Regions from separate parts of the Homo sapiens genome. Here region 2 is linked to region 1. The links are contacts of gene promoters, found by promoter capture Hi-C in blood cells and fetal thymus (Javierre and others, 2016). All regions are on one chromosome and are shown on one strand. Each heading gives the region's core, a stretch centred on a gene start or on the middle of the fragment in contact. The rest is flanking DNA. Distances are from core to core; before and after follow the strand shown.

The links. Contacts are between HindIII fragments. The CHiCAGO score rates a contact against its expected background, and 5 or more counts as called.
Region 2: a fragment that was not itself captured here is called in contact with the fragment with the promoter of ELFN2 in region 1 in 1 of 17 cell types (total CD8 T cells); the score reaches 7.2 in total CD8 T cells.

Annotation. Positions count from the first base shown.
Region 1 is chr22:37,425,313-37,429,208 of GRCh38, reverse strand. ELFN2 (extracellular leucine rich repeat and fibronectin type III domain containing 2) reads left to right here and starts at 1,730. Exons shown (of 3, transcript NM_052906.5): 1 at 1,730-1,911. The HindIII fragment of the contact is 18,273 bases long and covers 1-3,896 here.
Region 2 is chr22:37,029,647-37,033,624 of GRCh38, reverse strand. It overlaps LOC112268295 (a long non-coding RNA gene), which reads right to left and starts at 1,576. Exons shown (of 2, transcript XR_002958751.1): 1 at 299-1,576. MPST (mercaptopyruvate sulfurtransferase) reads right to left here. Exons shown (of 3, transcript NM_021126.8): 3 at 3,810-3,978. RefSeq lists enhancers at 1-211, 304-821. The HindIII fragment of the contact is 987 bases long and covers 1,346-2,332 here.

The sequences.
Region 1 (3,896 bases), core at 481-2,980:
TGGGGAGCACTCTAATTTCTCGAGGGATCCGCCAGAGGGCGCAGAGGCCGTTATGTTCCGCCTGAGGGGCTCTTCCAGCAAGGTCTTGGAGCTGGGACCCTGCTTCTTGCCCAGCCTTGTCAGGGATACACACCATGTGTTGGATACCGCCCCTGCCCTGTAGGAGGGCTCAGTTTAGAGGGCAGAGACAGCACATGGCTTGTTTGGGTTTGCAGCGAGGGACCTTGAAGGATGGGTAGGAGTGTGCCAGGCAGCCTGGGGTGCAGGTGGGGAACGCCCAATAGTCCTTCTGCATACCCCAGGACAACAAGTGGCCTGTGACCCAGTGCTTGTCTGCCCTCCCAGCCCCATCCTGGGCCGTTCCCTGTTCTTAGTTGAAAGGAGGGAGGAATTTCTGGACAGACGTTCTTTCTGCTCTACTAATACCCAACTCCGTGGAGTTCCCTGTACACACATACAAAGCTGTTTCATGCCTCTGTGCCTCTTTGCACATGCTGTTCCCAGAGTCCAGGACACCCTTCTCCTCCTTCTTTAGCTGGCCAACTCCTACTCATCCATCAAGATTCAGCTCAGGCAGTGGCTTCTTCTGGGGAGTCTCCTTATTCCAGACCTGCATGAGATGTCCCGACGGGGAGTTCCCGCAGCCTGGACTTCATCTGCTGTGCAACACCTGAGAACAGGCGCTGGTGCATGCGGTCCTATAAAAGTGATGGAGAAGTACAGGGCCTGCTGGCAGCAGGCCTCCGACATGCAGCTCGCAGGGCCTCGGGAGGAGGTGCTTGCATGCCCAAGCACCAAGTTATAGGCCCCGGGTGCCAGGCTTCTTGCATCTTCCACCTCCTCCTCCTCCTCCCAGCATCCACCCCTTTGCAGGTGGCAGCAGGTGGCAGGGGCTTTGGCGTAAGGGGCGGGGAACTGGGCCTCTGGAAGGCTAATGAAGGTTCTCTAGCTACAGATGAGCCCAGTATCCCTTGGACCTACTCCTGGAGGGGTGGGGAAAGGCAGTGAGTGCCCTGGCACAAGGTAGGGGAGCGTAAAGTCTAATACTGTCTGTAGGCTCCCTGTGTAACCTTGGGGGAATCACTCCTCTCCGAACCTCAGTTGTCTGGCCTGTAAAATGGGAACGCAGCAGCCGCACTTCCCCAGTCGCCAGCGGTTGAACGCGGGACCAACCAGCAGGGCGCAGGCGGCAGGGCATGGAGGTACAAGGCGGAGAGGGGGCCCATCAGCGGAGGCGGAGTCCAGGGGGAGGGCGAGTCCAGGCGCACTTCGGGCGGCCCCGCCGCAAGTTTGCCCCCAGCTGTTGAATGCGCTGGCGGAGGCCGGACCCGGACCCGGACCCGGATCCCGCGGGGTGAGCAGCGCAGGGGGCCGCGGCCGGGACAGGGGTCCGCCAGGCCGGGGCTCGGGTCCGTGGGGCCGCCTTCGCCTCCCCGGGCGCTGCAGCTGCAGCGGCGGCGCCAGGCGCGGCCCCAGCCCCGCGGGCGTGTGTCTGCGAGCGCGCGTGTGTCCGTGGAGCGTGCGGCCGGCTCGGGGGCGGGAGCGGGCTTGCTGCGGAAAGGCCTGCGGAGGGCACCGGGAGCGGGCGGGCTGGCGGACGGACAGACGGGGACGGACAGACGGACACAGCCTGCCGCGGTCCCTGACGCGCGCCGCTTGGCCCCTCCCGGGCGCCCTCCCCGCCGAGGCAGGGGCAGAGGCGCGGCGGCGGGGAGGAGGGGGCGGCGGCGTCTGCGCGCACACGCGCGCTCCCAGACACACACACAGACACACGCGGGCCACCCCACGGCCACGCACCCCGCACCCACACCCGCGCTCACACTCACATTCACACTCACACTCACACGCGCAGGCCCCGCGGCCGCCGCTTCCCGGAGGCGGTGCTTGGCCCGGATCCCGGCTGGGGCTGGGGTAAGTGAATTCCTCTGGATCCGAGCGCCGCGACCGACCGACCGGGGAGACGGTGGGAGTCGGGGCTGGAGCCGGAGGGCACCCCCTCCGTCAGTGGGGGTGGGGCTTGGAGAGGGACACGGAAGGGGGGATGAGACGGGGAGAGCCACCCCCAGTGTCTCCTGGGTCTGGGGATCCCCGTGAGACCCCCGGGGGACCACCCTGCGCGAGGGAGGTGGTGGTGGTGGCGGTGGGCGGAGGCGGTGGGAGGACACCGAGGACGGTCGGTGAGGTGAGCGTTTCTGGGGGTGGTGCAGAGGCTCGATGGTGGACGGTGTGCCAGCCGGTGCCACACTGCACCTCTCTGCCCTCATCTTTTCGAATCGGGGGCCCTAACCCCTCTCTTTCACGGGGTGCTGCCGGGTCAAGGCATTCATCCTCTAGCTGGTAAGAGGGGTTGACGGGGTGGATGCCTTCTAGGGGAAGGGGGGCCAGGGTGGGGCTTGACGGCGGTGGGGTTGGTAAGACCAGAATTGGGGGGTGGGGACCCTTTCAGAGGCGCTGGCCAGGGACAAGGAGGGAGGCAGCCCAGGGAGGCGGCATAAATCGCAGACACTGCAGCTCTGGCAGGGCCGGGGCCACTGCCGGGTGTGTGTGTGTGTGTGTGTTTGTGTGTGTGTGCGAGCGCGTGCCAGTGTGTGTGTGTGCGTGCGTGTGTGGGCTCCAGCAGCTGTCAGGGGACGGGGAGGGGGTGGGTGTGTTGGCTGGTGGGGCGCCGTGTGCATGTGGAGAGGATTGTGCGTGCTGTGTGTGTGTGGTGTGTGCGTGTGTGTGTGGACATGGGGTGGACCCTGCTCTCTGTCTGTATACACACAAGCGCACACACGCACACTGTCAGTGGCCTGGCAGGATTTCCTCGGAATGTTTGGAGGGAAGGGAGCTGATGTGTGTGTGTGTGTGTGCGCGCGCGCGCGTGTGCATGCACACTCGGGGAGCTTGTGTCCAAAACAGAGGCCACAGGCCATGGTGTGTCAGGCGTGCCCAAGGAGGGAGACGAGAAGGGGACAGTGGTGCTGACCGTGCACTCAGCTGGGGAGGAACGTGGTACTCGGCACTTTCTGCAGCTCAGGGCTCTGTGCTGTGCCCCTTCCCCCTGGACTCCTCCCACCCAGCAGCTGCGGCTGGAGGGCACTGCCTTGGTCCCTTGCTGAGACGCAGGTGTTGGGCTGGAGTGTGTGTGTGTGTCTGGGCTGCGGCTGTCGCTATCAGCAGGCCAGGCTGTCGGAGTCAGAAAGCTGGAGGGAGTGGGGTGCTGGCAGCACCTGGAGGAATGTGGTGGAAGCTGTGGGGCGCGGACTGCCCGGCGCGGTTACCGAGAGGCGTTTTAATATGCAAGTTGCATCATGAGATGGGACTGGGAGTGTGTGTGTGTGTGTGTGTGTGTGTGTATGTGTATGTGCATGGCTGACACCCCTGTTCTCGTGGCCCGTGGACACCTGTGGGACGTGTCACGTCTGGGCCATCAGCAAAGCATGTGGGCATGTGTGTCCCCTGAGAGGGGTGCACAGGCAGGTGCTGTCCTGATGAGCCGGGGGCCCTGCAACTGTGTGGGTGGGGAGGTGGGTACCTCTGGGCCATCAACGCCTAGGCAGGAAGAAAGAGTGTTAATTGTGGGGACATCAGGAAAAAGTATGTATGTGAGGTCAGTGAGAACCTCAGGTGTGACATAAGCTCCAGGCCGCAGGTGACGTCACTGGGACAGTTTTGTCGGAGGTTGCTCCCCCCAGCCAGAGTGTGTAAATGTGATGTCACGGGAGTGTGTGTGGCCGAGTGTGGTTATGTCTCTTGTATATGAGGGGTGGGAAGGGGAGAGGGATGGAGCCTTAGGACGCGTGGCGTGGTCCCTCCCAAGAGGCCGCCTTTCCCAGCATCCTGAGTGGGCATGGGACCCCTTTCCTTAAGTCCTGCCCCCTGAAGAGTGCACCTTCCAGGACTGGAACCCCCGA
Region 2 (3,978 bases), core at 590-3,089, 400 kb after region 1:
ACATCCTGACAGTTGAGGGGCAAGGAGCCCCTGCAGGTATCGCTGTGCAATCAAGGGATCAAACAAAGCCCCCAGAAGTTCAGGCAAGATCAGCCTACCAAGTTCCACCCCTAGTAGGTTAATAGGCAAAAAATTTAGGTGCTTAAAATAACACTTTCCGTTAACCTGAATATTTCAACATTTCATCTTCCCCCAAGTGATTCATCCTCCATGAGTTAAGGATAATAAAGCTCCATTGTGCTTATAGAGCTGAGGTTATTCCAGTAGGTGTGACACCTGACTTCATTTTGAGCCTTACCTGATGTGACATCACACCCACACTGGGCATGGCAGAACTGAGTTTGCTCCCATTTTTCAGATGAGAAGACTGAGGCCCCAACAGGAAGGCTCTGGAACGCAGACCTTCTGGGGCCTTGTGCAAAGCTGATTCCACAGCACCAGGACCAGATCGCTGCATGGATCCATATTCAGCCCACTGTGTGGATGGGGGCTTTGATCTCTGGAGGCAATGACCCAGGAAGTGGAAAACATTCCAGGGCAGCTGGTTAGGCAAGGTTGGGAAACGCATTTCCAACTGTTCCTGACACAGAGGGGGCGCCGAGCAAATATTTGCCAAGTGGATAAAAATTTCATCATTCTTGTTGCTCAGTGTTGCAAGTTCCTGCCTCGAACACACAGGTTGGGTAGGGCGGGCCCTGGCAGAGGCCAGGATCCTGCAGTCAGTGGTTAATTATTCTAAGAGTTCAGGCTTGCAGGAGGCGGGACGGAGCTGGGCGGAGGGTGCGTGTCTAGTTCATTCCTAACAAACTCCTGCAAAGTTAAACTGAAGCTCTGTAGTCCTAGAAAGGTGCGGCTAGATCGCCCACCTCTAGGCAGGTCACCTCCGAGCCTGTCCAGACCCAAGGAGGACCTTCCCAGGAGAAAAAAGCCCGGGCTGGAATCAGCCTTGGTTTCCTTGCTGCAGGTTGGACTAGGGTAGGGGAAGGGCGCCTAACCCAAACCCATTGGTTAAATTCCACTGCTCAAGGTTTCCCTGTGGAGCTGAGAAACACGTGGCCATCTTCCCTGAGCTTCTCATGCGTTTCTGTTCTCACCTTGATCCTGGAATCTGGAAAACCATGGCAGGCAAGATCCGCTGGAGAAACTCCTCCCCTGGAGAATTCTAACTCCAGTTAGGTTCCTCTAGCAAACTAGCTGTGTGCCCTGAGGCAAATCACTGAACCTCTCTGAGCTTGTTTTCCCACCTGTAAAATTAGTCTGTTGTGAAATAGATCATTTCACAGCACCCCCTTCTCTCTGGAAATGTACTCTAAAAGACTAGTTTCTCCTCCCTAGTTTGGAAGCTTTGAGAGGGCTGGGACACAATTCTATTTGTCACTCTCTCTCCTCCAATGCCGGAAGTGCAGAAGGCACTTAACATGCTGAATAAGTAAAACTCCTTTAAAACTAATGGGAAGAAACCCTTGGTGTTTACTCTGCACCAAGCAAAACAGTTTCTGTGGATTATCTCATGTAATCCTCATACTGCTCAGGAAGGTACTTCTTTTTTTGAGATACGATCTTGCTCTGTTTCCCAGGCTGGAGTGCGGTGGTGTCATCACAGCTCACTGCAGCCTTGACCTCCCAGGCTCAAGCGATCTTTGCACTTCAGCCTCCCAAGTAGCTGTGACTACAGGCACATGCCACTCTGCCCGGCTCATCTTTTTTCTTATTTTTGCCTACAGATGAGGTCTCACTATGTTGTCCAGGCTGGTCTTGAACTCCTGAGTTCAAGTGATCCTCCCACCTATGCCTCCCAAAGTGTTGAGGTTACAGGCGTGAGCCACCGTGCTGGCCAGGAAGGTACTATTTTGCCCGTTTTACAGGTGAAGAAACGGGTCTGGGCGCTGTGGCTCACGCCTGTAATCCCAACACTTTGGGAGGCCGAGGAAGGTGGATCACGAGGGCAGGAGTTTGAGACCAGCCTGGCCAACATGGTGAAACCCTGTCTCTACTAAAAATACAAAAATTAGCCGGGCGTGATGGTGAGTGCCTGTAATCCCAGCTACTCAGGAGGCTGAGGTAGGAGAATCGCTTGAACCCGCGAGGCAGAGGTTTCAGGGAGCCGAGATCGTGCCATTGCACTCCAGCCCGCGCAACAGAGCAAGACTCTTATCTCGGGGTGGGGGGGAAAAAAGAAACGGAAGCCTGCAGAGGCTGGGCAGCATGTTCGAGGTCAGGCTGCCTTGTGTGGAGTGGTTGGGACTGGAAGCTGGATCAGAACCTCACATGTTTGCAGACAAACTTGTCTCCTCAAAGTGGCAGAGCCATTCCAGGAAGGAAAACTAAAGCTTGTCTGAGACCGGCCAGAAAGGGGGGAGTGTCTAAACTGCCTCACTTCCACTTCTGGGAGAAGGTGCTTATGATGGGGAGTCGGGGAGCCCCTCCATGTTGGGGTTCCCTGTCTACACTGTTCCTGACTGCAGTGGTCAATTGTGTTATTTGCCCCTAGGGCAGTGGTTCTTGACTGGGGGTGATTTTTGCCCCCCAGGGGACATCCGGCCACATCTGGAGACTTTCAGTTGTCATAACTGGGCAGTGTTACTGGCATCTAGTGGGCAGAGGCCAGAAACGCGGCCAAGCATCCCCCAGCACACAGGACGGCCCCCATGACAAGGAATCATTCAGTGTAAATGTCAGCAGCACTGAGGCTGAGAACCCCCGGTGTGGAAAACGGGGACTCTGCAGTGGACTCTTGGAAGGGCTCTCATCTGAGTTTCTTCTTCGGAAGTACACGATTCCCATGTTTTAGGGGAGGAAACTGAGGCTCCGAGAGGTTGGGAGTTACTTTAGAGCTCTTACTTGGAAAACCAAGATTCTAGGCTGTGTCGATTTCTCCCGTCCCTGCGGACTTGGGAAATGACTCAGCATCAGGGGGAAGTTGAGGGGATACAGTCAGGTGAAAAGAGGAATAAACTGAGTCAGGGAATCTGGATCTGGCCCTGGCTCTTCATAAATTCAGTGTGGCCTTGGTAAGTCACTGCCCCTCTCTGGTCTCGTTTCCAAAGGAAGGGCCAATAAGATAACTTCGAGCTCTCCCCAGTACCGCCTGGCAGGACACTGCCCCTGCGCTGCTGAGATGGTGCCTGAGGGCTGGAAAGACGGGGAGGGGCAATCCAGGTCGTGATGGGCAGGGGGGAGTTTGGGGCCTTCTCAGACACCTACGTCCACCTCTGCACAAAGGATAAATCCCGGGCAAGGAGGATGGAACCCCTACCCTTGGGAAATGGGGAGAGATGTTCTCTTTGAGCAGAAAGAATCAAACTCCCTGGGTCCACCCACTCCGGGAATTCCACAGACCAGCCCCCAAGTGTGAGCTTCCAGAGTTTAGAGCCAGGTTCTCCTCCAATTCAGCTCAGCTTAGCCCTTCCCTAGAACATCCCAGCTGGGCTGGGACATTCCTCCTTGGCATGGCACAGGCTTCTGTTAAGCTCTGGCCCCATCTTCTTCTGGAAATGAGATGTACTATTTACCTGCTAGAAGGGCAGGTGGTGGGAGAGTAGCTTTGGGTGGGACCACAGACATGTCACAGCAAAATTCACCTTAAATAGCCCAGATGCCAGAAGGGAGAACGCCCAGGATTATGGGGTGAGGGACAGCTTGCTAGGGGCTAGCTCAGTCACAGAAGTGGGGAGCTCTGGGGCCCCAGCACTGCTTGGAAGGCAGAGACAGGATCTCCAAGACCCTCAGGCTCCCCAGAGTGACCTTTGCTGGGCATGACAGAACCCCTGGCTCCTTAGGAAAACCGAGGCAGCCCCAGAGCTACAAGATTTAGCACTTGGTTATTTTATTTCCTCAAAAATAAAACAGAAAGGAGGCGGGGCCCCAGCTCAGCACCAGGTGGGCAGCTCGGAGTTGTGGCCTCCCTCCTCCAGGGCTCGCCTCCGCCTTTCCTCCCGCCCCTACTGGCAGCCAACAAGTCAACGGAATTCCTGGCCT